7 separate regions of the Homo sapiens genome follow, and regions 1, 3, 4, 5, 6 and 7 are each linked to region 2. Evidence: promoter capture Hi-C in 16 types of primary human blood cells and fetal thymus (Javierre and others, 2016). All regions are on one chromosome and are shown on one strand. The core of a region is centred on a gene start or on the middle of the fragment in contact, and the rest is flanking DNA. Distances in the headings are between cores, read along the strand shown. Region 1 overlaps TAF1D (TATA-box binding protein associated factor, RNA polymerase I subunit D). Region 2 holds the start of CHORDC1 (cysteine and histidine rich domain containing 1). Region 3 has its middle 3.5 kb from the start of SMCO4. Region 4 overlaps CEP295 (centrosomal protein 295). Region 5 has its middle 3.5 kb from the start of CEP295. Region 6 has its middle 15 kb from the start of MED17. Region 7 overlaps MED17 (mediator complex subunit 17).

Evidence for each region. The method cuts DNA at HindIII sites, captures the fragments that hold promoters and counts their contacts. A CHiCAGO score of 5 or more calls a contact.
Region 1: a fragment that was not itself captured here is called in contact with the fragment with the promoter of CHORDC1 in region 2 in 7 of 17 cell types (total CD4 T cells, non-activated CD4 T cells, naive CD8 T cells and 4 more); the score reaches 13.6 in total CD4 T cells.
Region 3: a fragment that was not itself captured here is called in contact with the fragment with the promoter of CHORDC1 in region 2 in 1 of 17 cell types (non-activated CD4 T cells); the score reaches 7.3 in non-activated CD4 T cells.
Region 4: a fragment that was not itself captured here is called in contact with the fragment with the promoter of CHORDC1 in region 2 in 2 of 17 cell types (total CD8 T cells and activated CD4 T cells); the score reaches 5.6 in total CD8 T cells.
Region 5: a contact is called between a fragment that was not itself captured here and the fragment with the promoter of CHORDC1 in region 2, in 7 of 17 cell types (total CD4 T cells, naive CD8 T cells, activated CD4 T cells and 4 more). The highest score is 21.7, in total CD4 T cells.
Region 6: a fragment that was not itself captured here is called in contact with the fragment with the promoter of CHORDC1 in region 2 in 4 of 17 cell types (non-activated CD4 T cells, activated CD4 T cells, total CD4 T cells and 1 more); the score reaches 7.3 in non-activated CD4 T cells.
Region 7: a fragment that was not itself captured here is called in contact with the fragment with the promoter of CHORDC1 in region 2 in 3 of 17 cell types (non-activated CD4 T cells, total CD4 T cells and total CD8 T cells); the score reaches 7.5 in non-activated CD4 T cells.

What each region holds. Positions count from the first base shown.
Region 1 is chr11:93,736,774-93,739,473 of GRCh38, reverse strand. TAF1D (TATA-box binding protein associated factor, RNA polymerase I subunit D) reads left to right here. Exons shown (of 6, transcript NM_024116.4): 2 at 143-237; 3 at 975-1,365; 4 at 2,235-2,410. The coding sequence starts at 170. Among named protein-coding and RNA genes, the nearest start is that of SNORA40, 2.9 kb to the right of the region's middle. RefSeq lists an enhancer at 357-1,556. The HindIII fragment of the contact is 2,451 bases long and covers 112-2,562 here.
Region 2 is chr11:90,221,625-90,224,324 of GRCh38, reverse strand. CHORDC1 (cysteine and histidine rich domain containing 1) reads left to right here and starts at 1,276. Exons shown (of 11, transcript NM_012124.3): 1 at 1,276-1,434. The coding sequence starts at 1,371. LOC124902812 (a long non-coding RNA gene) reads right to left here and starts at 1,166. Exons shown (of 2, transcript XR_007062978.1): 1 at 905-1,166. The HindIII fragment of the contact is 11,072 bases long and covers 1-2,700 here.
Region 3 is chr11:93,545,493-93,548,192 of GRCh38, reverse strand. It overlaps a transcript of SMCO4 not described here. Among named protein-coding and RNA genes, the nearest start is that of SMCO4, 3.5 kb to the right of the region's middle. The HindIII fragment of the contact is 1,062 bases long and covers 751-1,812 here.
Region 4 is chr11:93,674,913-93,677,612 of GRCh38, reverse strand. CEP295 (centrosomal protein 295) reads right to left here. Exons shown (of 30, transcript NM_033395.2): 6 at 1,947-2,042. Among named protein-coding and RNA genes, the nearest start is that of CEP295, 15 kb to the right of the region's middle. The HindIII fragment of the contact is 913 bases long and covers 799-1,711 here.
Region 5 is chr11:93,656,804-93,659,503 of GRCh38, reverse strand. No RefSeq gene overlaps it. Among named protein-coding and RNA genes, the nearest start is that of CEP295, 3.5 kb to the left of the region's middle. The HindIII fragment of the contact is 4,500 bases long and covers 1-2,700 here.
Region 6 is chr11:93,767,529-93,770,228 of GRCh38, reverse strand. No RefSeq gene overlaps it. Among named protein-coding and RNA genes, the nearest start is that of MED17, 15 kb to the left of the region's middle. The HindIII fragment of the contact is 822 bases long and covers 882-1,703 here.
Region 7 is chr11:93,792,358-93,795,057 of GRCh38, reverse strand. MED17 (mediator complex subunit 17) reads right to left here. Exons shown (of 12, transcript NM_004268.5): 4 at 1,194-1,330; 5 at 1,023-1,107; 6 at 1-150. It also overlaps the pseudogene LOC124902851. Among named protein-coding and RNA genes, the nearest start is that of MED17, 9.4 kb to the right of the region's middle. The HindIII fragment of the contact is 6,811 bases long and covers 1-2,700 here.

The DNA.
Region 1 (2,700 bases), core at 88-2,587, 3.5 Mb before region 2:
ATCTGAAATGGATAAGAAGCTTAACCTTGGTAAATGATTTCGCCTGAAATCATTGGCATAGTCTGACCACGTTCAACACTGTAGTAGATACTGTCAATATTTAGGGAAGCTTTGTCATATTTACTAAATTTCATAATTTCAGAAAACTGTTTAAAACAAAGAGCAATTGATGGATAAATCAGGAATAGATTCTCTTGACCATGTGACATCTGATGCTGTGGAACTTGCAAATCGAAGGTGAGTGGATTCAATCATGTTTATTGTATCTGAATTATGAGAAACTATTGTATATAATGAGTGACAGTAAAGATAATTTTCAGGAATTGGGAAAGAAGGAAAACTAGATTTCACTGACCTTCCAAGTTTATCTAGTTACATAGATTGATATAATAGCATTGCAAATACTTTAAATTCAAAATGTGAATATATTATGGGACACATTCGTCGAGAAAAAATGTATTCTTTGGGTCATATTAGCATCTCTTCCAGACTACATCCTCCGGTTCGGTAGGCTGTGTTTGTTTTACTCAGACACTCTTAGCAGTGAACCGAACCATACAGCCTTTTGGAGCTCATACATTGTCTTGAAAGATACAGTTTTTTTGTAAGCTGAGCATAGTGGTGCATGCCATTAGTCCTAGCTAGCTACTTGGGAGGCTGAGGCAGGAGCATCCCTGGAGTTTCCAGGAGTTTGAGGTTGCAGTGAGCTGTGATTGCACCACTGCACTCCAGTCTGGGTGACAGCAAGACGATGTCTACAAAACTCTTTAATAAGAGCTGTAGCATTATGGGCTATTTAAATAGGATGATCAGTAGAAAGGCTAGCTGGTTCTGAGCCCATCCTTTAAAAAATTTTTAATTCTGGGCATGTTTTCTGAGTTGGTCTTGGAAGAAATGTACATTTAGGACTGGGTATTAATGGTAATAAGCAGTAAGAAAAGAAGATGAAATTAATTTTTTTCCCATTTTTCTAGTGATAACTCTTCTGATAGCAGCTTATTTAAAACTCAGTGTATCCCTTACTCACCTAAAGGGGAGAAAAGAAACCCCATTCGAAAATTTGTTCGTACACCTGAAAGTGTTCACGCAAGTGATTCATCAAGTGACTCATCTTTTGAACCAATACCATTGACTATAAAAGCTATTTTTGAAAGATTCAAGAACAGGAAAAAGAGATATAAAAAAAAGAAAAAGAGGAGGTACCAGCCAACAGGAAGACCACGGGGAAGACCAGAAGGAAGGAGAAATCCTATATACTCACTAATAGATAAGAAGAAACAATTTAGAAGCAGAGGATCTGGCTTCCCATTTTTAGAATCAGAGAATGAAAAAAACGCACCTTGGAGAAAAATTTTAACGTTTGAGGTGAGTCAGCATTTTACATACATGGCTACACATAACTCAAGATGCCCAAAATGATTTGTTGGCCAATTTAGAATTGTCTCAGATATACTGGGAACAGACTGTCTGCAATTTTGATACTCTTCTATACTGACTTACCCCTAAAGTCCACCCTATCCTTCAACTGAATCTTGACTTGTATCTCTTAATATAACTACACTTTGCCATATTTAAAAGATAGTGCTCCAAGGCTCTTTGTATAAAATCCTTTGATCTTATCCCATCTCAGGTCTTTAAACACAACCCTAAAACTCAGTGGGGATAATAAAAGCTCACATAACTTGAAATTACTTTTGCAGTAACCTAAACTAAAACCACACATGCCTTATGTTCAGTGGATATATTCTTAAGGCCTAGATGTTTCTAAGCCAATTATCTGAAAAATACGCTAATACTTAGGAGTAGACTTTTTTAAATATTTGAGAGTTGTATGTTGAATGAATTCAGAATTAATTTATGATCCCTTGCCAGAACCTGAAATTTTATTTGGGAGGATTAATACATGTTAATCTCTTCAGTTAATCTCTTAAGTTTAAGGTGATTATAGTAAACATTAGAAATCTTATTCCTGTTTTTACATTTTAAAATGCCTTTAGTAAGTCCCAGACATGACAAGATATGTACTTCACTTTTCCATGTTACCAGCTTAGGTAAATTCATAATTGTAATGTGAATTTTAATAATCAGCATTTGATAAGTCCACAAGTGGGGAGTAGTTAAGATAGCAAATTCAGAGTCTTTGCTAAGGGGGGGCATTGCCCTTTTTGAACATAGGCACCTGCTGGGTCTTAAAAATAAAATCTCGACATACTTATGGTGTTTTTAATATATAGCAAGCTGTTGCAAGAGGATTTTTTAACTATATTGAAAAACTGAAGTATGAACACCACCTGAAAGAATCATTGAAGCAAATGAATGTTGGTGAAGATTTAGAAAATGAAGATTTTGACAGTCGTAGATACAAATTTTTGGATGATGATGGATCCATTTCTCCTATTGAGGAGTCAACGTAAGTGGAATCATATGAAATACTTTGGTAATAGGTTATAAATTAAATTTCTATGTTAATTGCTTCATATTTTGCCTTTAATATAGTTATACTTAAATAATGAACAAAGATACAGAGTATGACAATTGGGATTATTACAGTTGAGCCAAGCTTGGCACACCGTTCATCTAGAATTCTCCAGAACACAAAATTCTCAAATTTTGTGTTTCCTTTGACTAGTATTGCAGTTTCAGTTATATTTCAGAGTGGAATATACAACTAATTAGGTCATCGAAGATTCTGTCATCTCG
Region 2 (2,700 bases), core at 27-2,526:
TTACCCCAGAACTGTCGCTTTCCAAAAATTTTCCTAAAGGGGGAAATTCGAAATAAGAAAAACAATACACAGGTTGAGCACTGTAACTTATATATAATAAAGTTGGGGAAATTAGAGAAAGGTTAAATTACAGTGCATTTATTCAACAGAATACTCCGTCATTTGTAACAATGACTATGAAACAAAATAGAAAAATACTCACGTTAGGTTAAATGAAGAAAACATACCTATCTATGGTGGATCACAATATGAAAATTTAATACTTCTAGGTAGAAGAAGAGAAAGAGAATATGAAAAACTAAAAAGTCTTTAGGGGTAGGAGGACGTGAGCAGATCTCTAAATAACCTTGAGATCAATGGAAACAGTGTATAGATTTTTAGGTTCACTTATAAGCTGCTGATCTTATTTTAAGATCCTTCAGTATATGTTATCAAAAAGTGTTTGCTTTTCTTGCAAACGCCCATGTTTGGGAAATATGCAAGTTGAAGCCAATGCATTACTGTACTTTTTATAATGCACCTGAAGTTTTACTAGCTGTTCCAAGAGTGGTGTACTGAGTATTGATAAATCGTTTAAGTGGAGGCTCACATGAAATATTAACTATTACCCCAGGGCTTTAGAGCAACTGTGATCAATTCTGGCACAGCATCAGATCCATAATTTTCTTTGCTACTCTGATTTCTACGTTTTTTGTATTTTCAAAGTAATGTGACCGCAACTGTTAAGTTATTAAAATTGCTCCTGAGATGAGGGCACTCGAGACACAAACACACGGAGAGGTTCGTCCGCTATTCCTCTCATTTACTAAGCTCACACGTCTACCCTGAGGATTTGGAAACACTGTATGATTCTGCACTTACTGTGCACTTATCCCTTAGTGCTAAGGGGTAAACAGATACCCACCGGGCTGTCTAAGGCGCAGCCTCAAGGCAAGGAAGAAGGGTGCTGGGTCGCAGGGGATGAGAGGGCGGGGCGGCCACTTTGCTGCAGGAGATACCCAAAGCCAGTTAGCACTGAGGAAGTCAGAAGAGAATTGTCAGTCTCTCGGACACCTTCATTTTCTGCCCCGGAAATTTCTCCTCCGCTGTTGTCTGGGCTCCACTTCCGACCCCCAGTTGCTACCAGCTGTAGTCCGACCTATCGTGGCCCGGGCTAGTGCCAGCCTCCCGCCGCTACCTCCGCCTCGTCCCTTCTCCTCTGCGCCTGCGCGACCGGAAAATTCGCGAAGGTTCCTGAAACGCAACGGATCGTTTCCGGAAGCCGGTAGCCGCCTCAGTCGTCAGACCGGTGCTAGCGACACGGGAGTGGCAAACGCATCCTCTTGCCGTTCCCGGTGTTTGGGCCTTGCCTGTGACGGTGGGAAAAGAAAATGGCCTTGCTGTGCTACAACCGGGGCTGCGGTCAGCGCTTCGATCCTGAGACCAATTCCGACGGTAAGAGGAACGCGCCGCCAGCCCTCCCTCCCCTCCACCTCATCAGCAGGGGAGGCCCTTTGGGCCGGAGGGTGTCCGCGGATCTCCTGCAGCCGTCCTCGCGCGGCCCCAGGTCCATGCCCCTCCTGGGCCTCCCTTGGCTGCCCGCGCAGCCCGCCGGCCGCCCCTCTGTTGCGCCGCGTTCCCTTGGCGAGCGCCCGGCCCCGGCGCCTGACTGTCCTCTGCCACTGCGGAGAGAGACGCTCCCATGGATCCACGTGTTTCCCCCGTCGTCCCCGCACTCCTTTTAAGTCGCCTGGAATTTAGAACGAACACGTTTCTCCTCTGGCCCTCCAGTCTCTGGGGAAGCAAAAATTAACGAGGTACTGGTGAGCTTGCTTTGTAGTTCCCGAAGTAGTGATGGCTGTGATTGCCTGCGCGAGAGGGAGAGGTGGCCGGGATGAGCAGCGGGTTGTCCTAGCATGTAAGCTCTGCCTTGTAGAAGTTTGTGTTCAGTCGATCCGCTGTTACAAACCTCTTACAAGTGTTCTTGGTAAGGGACATTACTCTGTATCTTCACGCTGTTTTGATAGGTTCATCCTGGTGGTACGTTAGTTATCTTTTTATTACTAGCGGCATTTGTTGCTTGTTCTTCTTGTGGCCTCCACGTTTTACTACCATGCCTACTCCCGTATAAAATGAGTGAATGTCATCTACAGCACCTAGATGTCGAGTTAAGGATCCAAAGCGAAAATGACTATTAGGTGAAGGACGGGAAATGATCAGTGAATTGAAATTTTGATTGACAAAGAAGTGAGATGATTCCTTGCGTATCGTGAGAAGTGACAACACGTTTTCAGATTGAACTAGCATTTAGTTTATATTTTCTGCATGCCAGCCATTATTGCTTTATCTTATTTAATCTTCATAACCACCCTGGGACGCATGTAATGTTAATTAGACCCATTTGATAGAGAAGCTCAGTTCAATGAGGTTGTATTAATAACATCCTTCATTATTGTGGAGGAGATGAAAACTGATGCCTTTTGAACTCTTCACCTCTGAGATGTTTGAAATACTTATTTTTGGCACACAGGTAAATTGATAGCGTTATTTAAAATAAGACCATTGATACAGAGTTTTAAGGAAAAGGAAAATCCAACCTATGCAATACTCAAGTTACCGCCACTGACATTTTTATGATGCAAATATGATGCTACTCATGAGGAAAATTGTGAGATTTCAGTCGATGACAAAATCGAGAAACGATTTTAAAGCCCTTTGGTG
Region 3 (2,700 bases), core at 32-2,531, 3.3 Mb before region 2:
TCATTTTACCTCTGAGTTGTGAAAAACCTGTCTGTGGATTTGCAGCCATCGGCAGATAACTCTGGAACTTCTGCTACAGAGAATGCACAGCCAGGCATGAACAGGGGCCAAGGGAGTAGGTTTATGAACATACATTCCTGACCTCAGCTCCTGGCAGCTGCAGTCAGGCAGCAGTTTTGAGGGTTCCTACTTCTGCAAACATTCTGAGACATGCAGACCACCATTCTAGGCCTCCCCCTCTTACTTCATTACTTGCATAATTTATCCCTCAAGGACAGTACAGCATAGCACAACACATGGCTTATCTCTGATGCACAAGGTTGTGTTTCTTCATTTATCCTGCACACGAGTCTTTGTCCTCCCCACAGCATCACAAAGGGACCCAGCAGAGAGAATCTTCCACAGCCTACACTCATTATATTCTCTTTGTCTTTTCTCCTTCTTCCTACAAAGTTAATATCACATGGATTAAGTCAGAAGACTCACAAGGCTTATATTATTCATTCATTTGTTTGCTCATTTATTGATTGATTTAATACATATTTATTGAGTTCCTGTATGCACCAGGCTCCATGCTAGGTATTGAAGGTATAGTAGTGGGCAAGCAAACGCAGTCCCTTTTCTCGTGGAGGGAGAATTCGAGAGACACAAACACATGAGAATATGTAACTATAAAAATATGATGAGAACAGTGAAAAAAACAAGGAGTGTCATGAAAGCGTGCAACAGATGGGGTGGTTAAGAAAAGCTTCTCTGAGAAGACGACATTTAAGGCAAGGCCCGAGAGATTATGTAGTGGACATTCACTGGTTTTGTTATCCTTGATCAACTTTCCCTTCTTTGGTAACAATGCCCTGATGATTATGTTTGGAGGCTTTCATTCAAGGTGTCCTGTTCTTCTCTGGCTGAGGGTAGGCATGTGGCCAAGCTAACCAAGGCTGACGTTCTTCTAGGGTTTGGAATCTTGAGTGGAGTGATGCAAAAACAGAAAAACCAGAGTGGCTTGTTCCACTGGTTGAGCCTCAACAAGGTGTCTGTTAGGAATCAAATCTCCATAAGATTCCTGAGCTGTTTGGTCTTTGAGCTTTCCAAAACTTGGCTGAAGAGACTGAGAGCTACCTCTATGTGCACCAAATTTTTTTGTTTACATTATTTCCCAAATAATGTACCACAGAACTCTAATGGGTTCTGGAAAGCGGGATTTAGCAAAGTGAAGAGTTTGGGAAAGAGCACGTCAGTGGAAGGAACAGCATGTGGAAGGGGCTTTCTGTGAAGAAGAGAAGAGCTTGCTGGTTTGGGGAACAGAAAGAAAGCCAGTTGGGCAAAGTGTGCTGAGTGAGGGGCAGAACAGTACCAATATCTCTGTAGGGGCAAGCTGCACCAGACCTCATGGGGCCATGTATAATCGTTTAGATTTTATCACCAGCACATAGGAAAGTTACAGACATATTTTGAGCATGGGAAGAATATTTTAAATAGCAAAAATGTCACAAAGGAAAAACAGAAGAGTTCAACTAACAGCGTAAAGAACTGTGAATTGGTCATCCCAGTTCTGCTCTGAGCCAGCTCCAGGACCTTGGATATTTGTAAGGCTCTGATGATTTCTCTTAGCCCCAGTTTTCTCATCTGTAAAATGAGGTGGTGGGTTAGATGATCTCTAACTCCATCTCTGATGTTTCGTGATCTATGATAAAACCATGCCAATAAATGTAATTGTCATTAAGGAGCTTACAATCAAGTGGGAGAGATAAACACACCTAACCTCTATGATACCTGCTGTTGATGTTCCAGGGAGTTCTAACGTTTAAAGCTTTTGGTAGCTTACAAGCTGATTTTGCCAGCCCATTGTTATGTTGACTGCCAAAGGATTTTAAACAGTACTAGGCTCAGTAACCAATTCAATGAAGAACTTTCAAAGAGGGTATTTACATGAAGTGTGATGCTCTGCTAAGCTTAGATTTAGTGACTTCAACTGAATGCTTCATAACAGAAAACGCTAGCAAGAGTACTGATTCTTGGGTGAATTTCATCTAGAACTTGTAACTGCAGGAGTGCCTGTGAGTGATCTGTGTGTCAGTTATCTATTACTGTATAACAAACCACCCTAACACTTAGTGATTTGAAACAACCACCATTTTATTTCTCACAATTCCTGGGTTGGCTGGACTATTTTTGGCTGGCTTTCCCTGGAGCTCACTCATGTGGCTGAGAGCTGGTGGGCTGCATAGCTGGGACAGCAAGGCTTTCTCTTCTCAGGGTCTTTCCTCTTCAAGGAGTTGGACCAGGTTTCTTCATGGCAGTCTCAGGATAGCATTTCAAGAAAGCAAGGAGCAAGGCACAAGTGCACATCGAAAGCCCCTGCTTGTGTCATATTTGTTCATGTCCCAGTAGCTAAAGGAAGTCACAAGGCCAACTCCAGGGTCAACGTGGGAGGGAGCTACAGAAGGACAACTCAGTAGGGGTGATTCATTAGAAGCCATTAGTGTAAAATGTGTAAACTTTTCCTCTGAGACTTGCATTGCAAGATACACAACTCTAACCTATAAAGGATGACACTTTCTTTTTCTTTTCTCTCTCTCTCTCTTTTTTTTTTTTTTTTTTTTTGAGACAGAGTTTCACTCTTGTTGCCCAGGCTGGAGTGCAGTGGCATGATCTCAGCTCACTACAACCTCCGCCTTCTGGGTTCAGGTGATTCTCCTG
Region 4 (2,700 bases), core at 6-2,505, 3.5 Mb before region 2:
CAAAGAATAGACATGATGAAGCCCATGAATATGTAATGTAGGACTTTTAAGCGTATGATGTTTTGTTCAGTTGTGTGTAGAGGTAGCGAATGTAGCAAAACAAAATGTAGAGAATTACTGGCTGTAAGTAGGACTACAGCAGGCCACTTTCATAAATCTTCTTCAGCCAAAGATATATATTATGACATATAAAAGATTTTGGAATTACTTTATCAGGATATTAAAAACACACACACACACAATAGCAGCTCTTATGTGCTAAAAAGGCTGACTGAACAAATGAAAGTTTATTTGCAGAAAGCTGCTAAAGAAAAATACCCAAACATATATGCCAAGCGTGCAAATATTTTTTATATGATACCTGCTGTAAAGATCATATCGTACTCCTCCAGGGAAGATGCTAAAATTATTGTGCATGTGATATAAGTTGAGTGCAGATGAAAATTCAGAGGTAATTTTATCTTGAAAGCCAAGCACATTGGTCATCACATTTTAAATCCAAAGTTTAAGGACAGACTTTTCCTAAGTGATACAGTAAAGCAGCAAATAAAAGAAAATATTCGAATAAAAATGTGTTCAGTAATAAACCCATTTCTGAAAATATTCAGAAATCATATCTTCATTCAGTACACAAAGCTTTAGTTTGTGGGAATACTTTCATAAAACTGTTAGAAACAAAATTTGTTTGTGGTCCCGAACTTTTTTCTAACCCTTTATCATTATAACTACTGATCTAATTTTTAAGTCCAAAAATTGAAAAGGAGGTAGGCCTTCTGGTTACTATCAAAAAAGAAAGCTTATGGATATTAATTTAATACCATCAGCAGCACCCTATGCTGACAGAGTTAGGTAAAAAAAAATTCATCATCAATCTTAGTTAAAAGGTAGCATCTTTTCAAATCACAAAAATGCAGTAAACAGTAAAGCAGTTAGCAACAAATTGAAGTTATTGTTCCTACATCATAATATCGAAACTGTAATAATACTTTACAATTTTAAATAAATCTCAGATTTACTCTTGCATCTTAGAAGTTCATTCTGTGATGATATTCATTTTAGTTCTTAACTGAATATTTTAATACCTGCTATTAAGCAGTCAACCAAAATGTGTATTTGTTGCATTCTAAATGCCACAGGAATGCTATAAAATTTATTTTCCTAGTAGAGAAATATATTCAACATGAAAAAAATTAAAACCCCCACTGACACAGAGAAATAGCAATTATAATAACAATATATCATTTGTTACTCTTAAGACTGGCAATAATTTTTAAAACATAATATTCAGTGCAGAAAAGGCTATGGTAAGGTGGTCATTCTCCTATGTTGCTGATGCTTTTAAAAAGCAATTTAATGATCTGTATCAAATGTTACACAGTTTGGAGCCAATACTTTCTCTTTCAGGAATTTATATATAATCAGAGATGTGGATAAAAACGTGCAAGATAATGCTTACATTACTTACAGAAGCAAAAAATAAAATAATGGTTAAATAAATGCTACCATGAAATATTAAGTGGCCACTAAAAATCATGTTTTGAAAAGTGTGTGTATATGTTTATATTTAAATAAAGGTTATAATGAATTTATTAAAACATTAACTATATTCCACTTTGGTGACAGAATTGGTGTTTTCCCAATAGTTTACACTTATATGTACAGTTCCAAATTTTCCACAAATAGCATGTAATATTTTATGATAAAAAAAGCTTTAAAATCTGCTATTTTAAAATAACCATTTAAATAGCCAACTAGTTTCTTTAATTCATATTAAACCATCATATGCCTGACATGAAAATTCAAAGCATTTAAAAGGTTTTGATTATTATTATCAATTGTCCAAATTTTGAAATCTGGGAACACCATACATATAACTAAGATATAATTCAATTCAATGCACACAGAAATAATAAAGCGAGGGCATGAAGAAACAATAAGTCAATCACCCGTTTTGTGTCTGTCTCTCTATTCACAAAAGTGTGAAGATGATGGTAGGTAGAACTATTGGTTTTGACTGCAGAAATTCTTTTTACTTCGATGTTCTGGAAAAGAGAACATAAAAAAATAGGTTAAAAGCATTAATTTTCACTTAAAGCTGAATCCAATGCAAAAAAAGTAATTTTGTATTTTAATGAGTTCTCCGCATCCAAAACATGCTAAATATCTGCTCATAATGAAATCAAATTTTTTGAGTTAAATTACTTCAAATTTTAATAAAAGTACCAGATTCATCAGTATTTCAAATCATCTTCAAGGTGTCGCTAACTAAATGTGTTTTATTCATCTCAATTTTTAAGTTATTTATAGAGAAATTTCATCTTTAAATCTCCTGAATATAGAAGGGCTTACAGGCCATATCAAATGAAATGAAAAGCACTTCATTATATTTATAAGACAACAACATGCACTACTATGTCCTCTTCCATATCTAATCACAAAAATTCTACTGTAGTTCACATTAGTCTTATTTTCTCAATGTTTAATGACGTATTTTGAATTTTGGTCCTGAAACACTTGCCAATATATTTAAATTACACTTACTCCAGAACAAAACAACTCTCAGAAGAATGAAAGTAAACTACCTTCCCCCTTCCCTTTCCTGTATTTTGTAGTAAAGGCAGATTCAGTCCATCACAACCTATCACATACTGATGTTAAATTAATTAACTAAACTGACAAAGAATATTAAGTGCCTACTAT
Region 5 (2,700 bases), core at 105-2,604, 3.4 Mb before region 2:
AGAACCAGGAGTGCACTTTGTTCAGTTGCCTGGCATAAATGAACAAAGCTGAATAAATGACCAAATTACATGCTTCACTTCCTCAACCTGCATCCTTGGCAGAAATTCTACACTTGGAGATTTTGAATCGAGACTTGTTCTGTTTTTAATAGAAGGCAGTGAGGAATCAAAGCCCAAGTGGGCTTAGAGTCAGAGCATCTGGCTTAGCATTACCACAGATACTTTCTAGCCGTGGGACCTCAAATCAATGAGTCTTCATTTCTGTTTTGGCGATCAATTGCTGCCAACCGAACCACCCTGGAATGTCCAACATGGGTCACTTACTATGGCTGGCAGCTGACGTTGGCTGGCAGCTGAGAGCTCAGCTGGAACTGTTGACTGGAGTGTCCACTCATGACCAGTCCATGTAGATTGGACATCTCACTCTATTGTGGCTAGTTTGGAGAGGGAGCATCTTAAGAGTGAGCATTCGCAGAGGAATAAAGTGGAAGCTGCAAGTCCTTTAAAAGGTGAGGCAGAGAACGAGTTGTAGTAAGTTGTATCACATTTTATTGGTTAAGTAACATGGAGCCAGGCCAGATTCAAGTGAAAGGGAAATGAACTCCATCTCTCAATGGAGGCAGTGACAAAGAATTTGTAGCCATCTTAATCCACCACGTTTCTTAGTAATACTTCATGTCGCCTCTCTATAGGATGGTTGTGAGACTCAAAAGGCATGAATCATATGAGAGCACTTTGTAAACTCTAGAGGGGTATACACATACTAGGTAGTTTAGCAGTTATTTATTTTATTTTTCTGTCGAACACCTTTCTCTCCTCCTCTGGTACAGACCCAGACCTCTAGGCTACCGGGGTAGGCATGTGACCCAGACTGGACAAATCGCAGTTCTTGTTTCCATTGCCATTGTGACCAACCGAGGTACAGGTATGTTACCTAATTGGGGCAATCAGAGTCTTTCACAGGAATTGGCACTGGAGACAGCAGAGACAAATATTTTCCTCTCTGGGCTCATGTTAGGATGTAAACCTGGAGCTTTCCCAGGTGGTCCCCCACAAGCTGGTCTGAAAGAATGAGTGTGACAGCAAGGAGCGCAGAGAGAGAATTTGGATAGTGTTCAAGTCCCTGGATCTAGCCATACCTGAGGTCAATATGCCTGCCTATTCTGCAGCAAACTGGTAGCAGCCATTCAGTCTTCTACTGAAGCTGCTTTGAATGGGAATTTCTATTTTTTTGCAAATTAAAAAGGGCTGTAGATTTTTATTTAAATTCTCATAGACAAACACATCTGGACATCTTGGGAGATAGTATAGAATAATGTTTAAGATCTTGGCTGAGCACAGTGGCTCACACCTATAATCCCAGCACTTTGGAAGGCCGAGGCAGGAGGATTGCTTGAGCCCAGGAGTTTGAGACCAACCTGGGAAACATAGGGAGACTTAATCTCTACAAAAATATTTAAAAATTAGCCAGGTATGGTGGTGTGCACCTGTAGTCCTAGCTACTTGGGAGACTGAGGTGGGAGGATAGCTTGAGCCCAGGAGGTCAAGGCTGCAGTGAGCTATGATTGTGCCACTGCAGTAAGTAAACTTTGGGCAACTGAGTGAGACCCTGTCTGAAAAATAAAAATGTTACATAGATTTCTTCCAAATGGATTTAAATTTCTGGCTAACTCTGTGACTTTGAGCTAGTTACTGGACTTCTTTAAAAGTCTGTTTCCTCATCTCTTAAAGAGATGTAGTGAAAGTACTCAGGTTCTTGTGAGGTTTAAAGCTCTTGAAACAATGTCTGGCACAACATGTGCAATAAATGTTACCTTTTTTGGCTTTAATTTTAATACATTCATTTTAGAATACAAGAGAGGGAAAAAAACCCAAACTCTTAAATGTGTTTATTGGTGTTTTGGATTTGATTTTTTTTTTTCTTTTTTAGTAGAGATGGGCTATTGCTTTGTTGCCCATGTTGGTTTCAACTCCTGGACTCAAGTGATCCTCCCACCTTGGCCTCCCAAAGTGCTGTGATTACAGGCATGAGCCACCACACCCGGCCTGGTTTGATTTTTAATTCAGTCTTTTTGTAGAGTTTAGGCCTAGGGAGAAGTATGTGTATTTAGTTTCTAGTATTGTTAACCTATTGAGAATGAACCTCAGTAACCAGTGATCAAGAGGAAGAATTGTCCTCAGCAGTAATGACATTAGTGTCACTGGTTTATAATGCTGCCACTCTTCAAAATGCAACTGAAGCCATTTAAGATTTGAACAGTTTAAGATGTTTCTCTGATGGCAACGGTTTCACTGTTTCATCTTTATCCACATCCAATATAAGCAAATGATATTTAAGTGGGGAGGAACCCTCAATAATTCTTATGTATAAACACCAGAAAAAAGGGGGATCTCTGCAAGAACAAAAGTAATCAAAGAACTTCCATCTGACCATATGCTAACTGCCCTCTTTCTCCCTAATATACACACCACAGGAGCTTAACAAGTGACGGTGTCTCGGTAGAATAATTTAGAGCTACTACCAGGAGTGAAATTAAGAGTGCCAGGCAGGAGAGGAAGGATAGGCTGAGAAAAACTTTTAAAAGCTGTAAATATTTTTTAGAGGTATAGGGTAGGAGTTGAGCCAAGGAATTGAGCCACTTGCTTAAAGACAGTAAGAAGCAAGAGGAGATAATAGGGAAATTCACTGGCTCTGTTCCA
Region 6 (2,700 bases), core at 43-2,542, 3.5 Mb before region 2:
GTCCTTTGTCCACAAGGTATTGTGGACAATTGTGAGGGAGGTATATAGCTTCTTCTCTTTGTAGCTGTCTTATTTAGGAATAAAATGGGAGGCAGGTGTCTGACATAGTTCCCAGCTTGACTTTTCTTTTGGCTTAGTGATTTTGGGGTTCCAAGATTTATTTTCCTTTCACAAGTCCATTTACACATCCAGTTAGATTACATTTCACTAGGTATGGAGAAACTTTTAGGCCAAACTTAAAATATGTAAGGAGGCAGCTTTTAGGCTAAACTTAATTTAACAGTGTACAGTACAATATAGGGCAATACTGGCCGGGTGCAGTGGCTCACGCCTGTAATCCAAGCACTTTGGGAGGCTGAGGCAGGCGGATTACCTGAGGTCAGGAGTTCGAGACCAGCCTGGCCAACATGGCAAAACCCCGTCTCCACTAAAAATACAAAAATTAGCTGGGCCTGGTGGTGTATGCCTGTAGTCCCAGCTACTCCAGAGGCCAAGACAGGAGGATCACTTGAACCTGGGAGGCGGAGATTGCAGTGAGCCAGGATTGCACCATTGCACTCCAGCCTGGGCAATGGAGTAAGACTCCATCTCAAAAGACAAAAAACAAACAAAAAACAATATAGGGCAATACTGATAGGATTTATTCTATTTTATTTCAATTATTTTTTCACCTGAGTTGGGGCTTAGAAAACAAAATTGTAAAATATAGCACTTTGGCATGCTGAATGTTTTGAATTAAGGAATATTAAAAGGTCTCAGAAATAAGCCTCAGAACCAAGGGATCTCTCTGACCTTCCTCAGCTTCCCCATCTCTCTGATCTTCTTCCTTTTCTGAAGCTTCTGGAAGGACTCTGGAACTTCCTTTTGTGAGCAGGGAAGCTTCTTTCCAAAAAAAAAAAAAAAAAAAGCAGTGAATCCCCTCTCTAGGAATCTCATCAAATAACCAGAACAGGTTAACCACCAAAAAGATGACACTGGGAGTTGTCACCATGTCCAGGCAGGCTTTTTTTTTTTTTTTTTTGAGACAGAGTCTCACTCTGTCACCCAGGCTGGAGTGCAGTGGCATGATCTCAGCTCACTGCAACTTCTGCCTCCCACGTTCAAGTGATTCTTCTGCCTCAGCCTCCGGAGTAGCTGAAATTACAGGTGCCTGCCACCATGCCTGGTTAATTTTTGTATTTTTAGTAAAGATGGGGTTTCTCCATGTTGGCCAGGCTGGTCTCAAACTCCTGACCTCAGGTGATCCACCCGCCTCGGCCTCCCAAAGTGCTGGAATTACAGGCATGAGCCACCGTGCCCGATCTGGATTTTTCATTTATTCTTGTGAGTGCAGCTCCACGAGGATTACCTGGGAGACATTATCTATGTAAGATAACCTTTGCTCACAGTAAAGTTCTGCCCCTCATCTTCCTGCCACCTCCCCCAGAGTTCAAAATAACTTTCTTCCAGGCCATTGTTCTTGGAGCTCATTCATTTTCCCTAAAAATCTTTTACTCCTATACCCCCGTGCCCACCATCTCCCCTTCCTCTATGAAGAAGGGTATATAAACATCTGGACCTCATTGGATTATTGAGTAGTCATTCTCCTGAGGTTCCCTCATGCTTATGCACACTAAATAAAGTTTGTATGCCGTTTTCTCCTGTTAGTCTGCTTTTTGTCAGTTTATTTTCAATGAGCCTTCAGAAAGAGTGAAAGGGAAGCTTGGTCTTCTCCTCTATGCATGTCAGTGTCCCCACTAGACCAAGCTCTTCCAGGTCAGGGACTATGTCTTATTCATCTTTGTATTCCTAGTACCTGGCACAGTATGTACCAGTACAATATGTACCATATATACCAGTAGAGTACATACTACTATATACTAATACCACTACAGCATGTACCAGAGCACCTAGTATAGTATGTAATAGTAAATTGCTACTGAATGAAAGATTAGGCCACACAGAGGCTTTACAGGTAAACTAAAAGGAAGCTGAGCTTTAAAACCAAAAGCAAATGGAAATCTGCATTTCGGTGTTGTATCAGTCTGTTCTCGCATGCTGTAAAGACATACCTGAGACAGGGTAATTTATAAAAAAGGTTTAATGGGCTCATGATTCTGCAGGTTATACAGGCTTCTGCTTCTGGGGAGGCCTCAGGAAACTTACAATCATGGGGCAAAGGCAAAGGGAAGCAGGCAGGATGGGAACAGTGGCTCATGTCTGTACCCAGAATTTTGGGAGGCTGAAGTGGGAGGAGCACTTGAGTCCAGGAGTTCGAGACCAGGCTGGGCAATGTGATGAAACCCTGCCTCTAAAATAAAAAAATAAAATAAAATAAAATAAAAATTAGCTGGGTGTGGCATGTGCCTGTAGTCCCAGCTACTCTGGAGGCTAAGGTGGGAGGATGGTTTGAGCCTGGGAGGCAGAGGTTGCAGTGAGCTGAGATCATGCCATTGCACTCTAGCCTGGGTAACAGAGCCATACCCTCTCTCAAAAAAAAAAAAAAAAAAAGGAAAAAGAAAGAAAAAAAAATTTTTTTTTTAAGACGGAGTCTCACTCTGTCGCCCAGGCTGGAGTGCAGTGGCGCGATCTCGGCTCACTGCAAGCTCCACCTCCCAGGTTCACTCCATTCTCCTGCCTTAACCTCCCTAGTAGCTGGGACTACAGGTGCCCACCACCACACCTGGCTAATTTTTTGTATTTTTAGTAGAGATGGGGTTT
Region 7 (2,700 bases), core at 10-2,509, 3.6 Mb before region 2:
GAAAGGGCTGAGAGATAATCTGGTTTTTCACCACAATGTGAGGGACTTGTGATTTAATTTGAACAGCTTCCCGAGAGAGCTGTGCAAAAATTTCTTTACATAAGAGAACATTCTGTGCCGCTTCTAATTTTGTCTGCCAATGTGGGGAACCTGAAAGACAAGAAATATATGTATCAATTATCTAACCATATTATGCATTAACTAGTTTAAATGGTGATCTGAATACATATGACAAAAGTTTAGGAAAACACTACATTACGGTATATTCTTTTTTTTCCTATTCAGTCTCTATAGAGACTGTCAAAAATTGCCAATGCCAACTGTGTTACAAATCATCCCGGCAGGGTATTGAGAAGTTCCCCACCACCCCAATCTTTCATTCCTGAAGAGGAAAGTTTAAATTCCTGTAGAGGGAAGTATCAATTAGCAATAATCATGCCACAGATAAACCTCACTGGGTTTGATACTGCCACTGTGCAAAGCTATATTCTTTCCAAAATATAAAAATCTCACTTCTTTAACACAAAAAACCAGTAAATAAGTCCAATCTTAAAAAAAGGTGCTGGTGGCTCATGCCTGTAATCCTAGCACTTTGGGAGGCTAAGGCGGGTGGATTACCTGAGGTTGGGTGTTCGAGACCAGCCTGACCAACATGGAGAAACCCCATCTCTACTAAAAATACAAAATTAGCCAGGAATGGTGGCGCATGCCTGTAATCCCAGCTACTCGGGAGGCTGAGGCAGGAGAATCGCTTGAACCTGGGAGGTAGACGTTGCGGTGAGCCGAGACTGCGCCATTGCACTCTAGCCTGGGCAACAAGAGAGAAACTTGGTCTCAAAAAAAAAAAAAAAAAAAAAATTGCACAGCTATTCACTAATAGTTTATTGATAAATTTTAGAAGTATATTTTGAATTGTTCTTACTTCAAACTATCTATTTTTTCCTACCTATATTTATCTTCAGTTTATTTTAAAATGTCAGCTCAAATAAGACCAGAAATTAGAGAATAGAACATAACCATACCTGGTTTGGATTTGGGCAAAGGTCGTTTGAAGAGGTTAACTGTGCCGAGGTCACCTATATCTGGAGCCTGTTTTTGTATTGAAACCTATATGACAACAAAAACAAAAAAAGTTAACAAATTAACTTCAGGCTATTCGTAAGAAATTACTTGAAAAATATTTTGACAAATACCTTGATATATGCAGACCCCTCTAAATCACTAGGAATTTGGACATCAAGAGGACAGTAATCTTCAGGTATCTTTTTATCCAGATCGAGATCTGTATTCTTTATTACTTCAAATGTACCATGATGAGGAAAGAGAGATCCTAATGTTGTATTAAAAATAGGAAAATATAAAACAGTTAACATATTATTCCGACACACATTATTAAATATATAATACTTCACATCCACATCACTGAATCACAAAGTAAGTCCCCACTAAAAAACATATGTTTTGGGGGAAAAGGGTGAGGAATGGTGAACAAAGGAAAGAAAGATAAAGGTGGGGGGTGGTTATTTACCTTAAAAAAAAAAAACACTTCTTAGTCTAATGACATCAACATAATAAGAATTCCACAGAAAATCCAAATTGTTTTATTCCAATGGAGTATTGATAAAAATGGGTGTACTCACAGGGCAGGCATGGTGGCTCATGCCTGTAATCCCAGCACTTTGGGAGGACGAGGCGGATGGATCACCTGAGGTCAGGAGTTCAAGACCAGCCAAGACCAACATGGAGAAATCCCCATCTCTACTAAAAATACAAAATTAACTGGGCGTGGTGGCACATGCCTGTAATCCCAGCTACTGAGGAGGCTAAGGCAGAATTGCTTGAACCCGGGAGATGGAGGTTGTGGTGAGCTGAGATCGCGCCATTGCCCTCTAGCCTGGGCAACAAGAGCGAAACTCTGTCTCAAAAAAAAAAAAAAAAAAAAAGAGGTGTACTCCTAGAAATGAAACCTTGGGGATGAAATACTTCTGGAGCTTAGCCTCTCTACTAAGGTTTCAACTAAGTGCTCTGCATCCAACAACAGAAAGACAGAGGATAGTGCACATAACATCTTTTTTTCAACCAGTTTCCTAGATTTTTTATTTTTTATTATCTTTTTAGAGACAAGGTCTCCCTCTGTCTTCCAGGCTGCAGTGTGGTGGTGTAATCATAGCTCACTGCAGCCTCAAACTCCTAGGATTTAACAATCCTCCCACTTCAGCCTCCCAAGTAACTAGGACTGCAGGTACATGCCATCACACCCAGCTAATTTTTAAGTTTTTTTTCTTAGAGATAGGGTCTATGTTGTTCAGTCTGGTTTTGAACTCCTGGGCTCAAGCAATCCTCCCACCTTGGCCTCCCAAAGTGCTGAGATTACAGGTGTGAGCCCCCATGCCCAGCCCAGTTCCTAGATTTTATGTGATGTGTTTTTGTGTAGGTCAGGAGTTTGGGTAAGTTGTTCTGGGCCATTGAATTACATAAGAAATAGGTGGTTCAATGTAACTGGTTTTATAACAAGGGAAGATGCTAAAGATTTTCTTGCAATTAAAAACAATGTGATCAAATCCTTTCATAATCATGAGTGACTACCCCAAAGAAAGAATTAAAGTTCTTGCACACAAATTATTTGTGGAAAAGAAAATGCCCAAAACCAGAAAGCACTGCTTCTACAGACCACCTATTAAAATTTTTAAATGGTCTTGT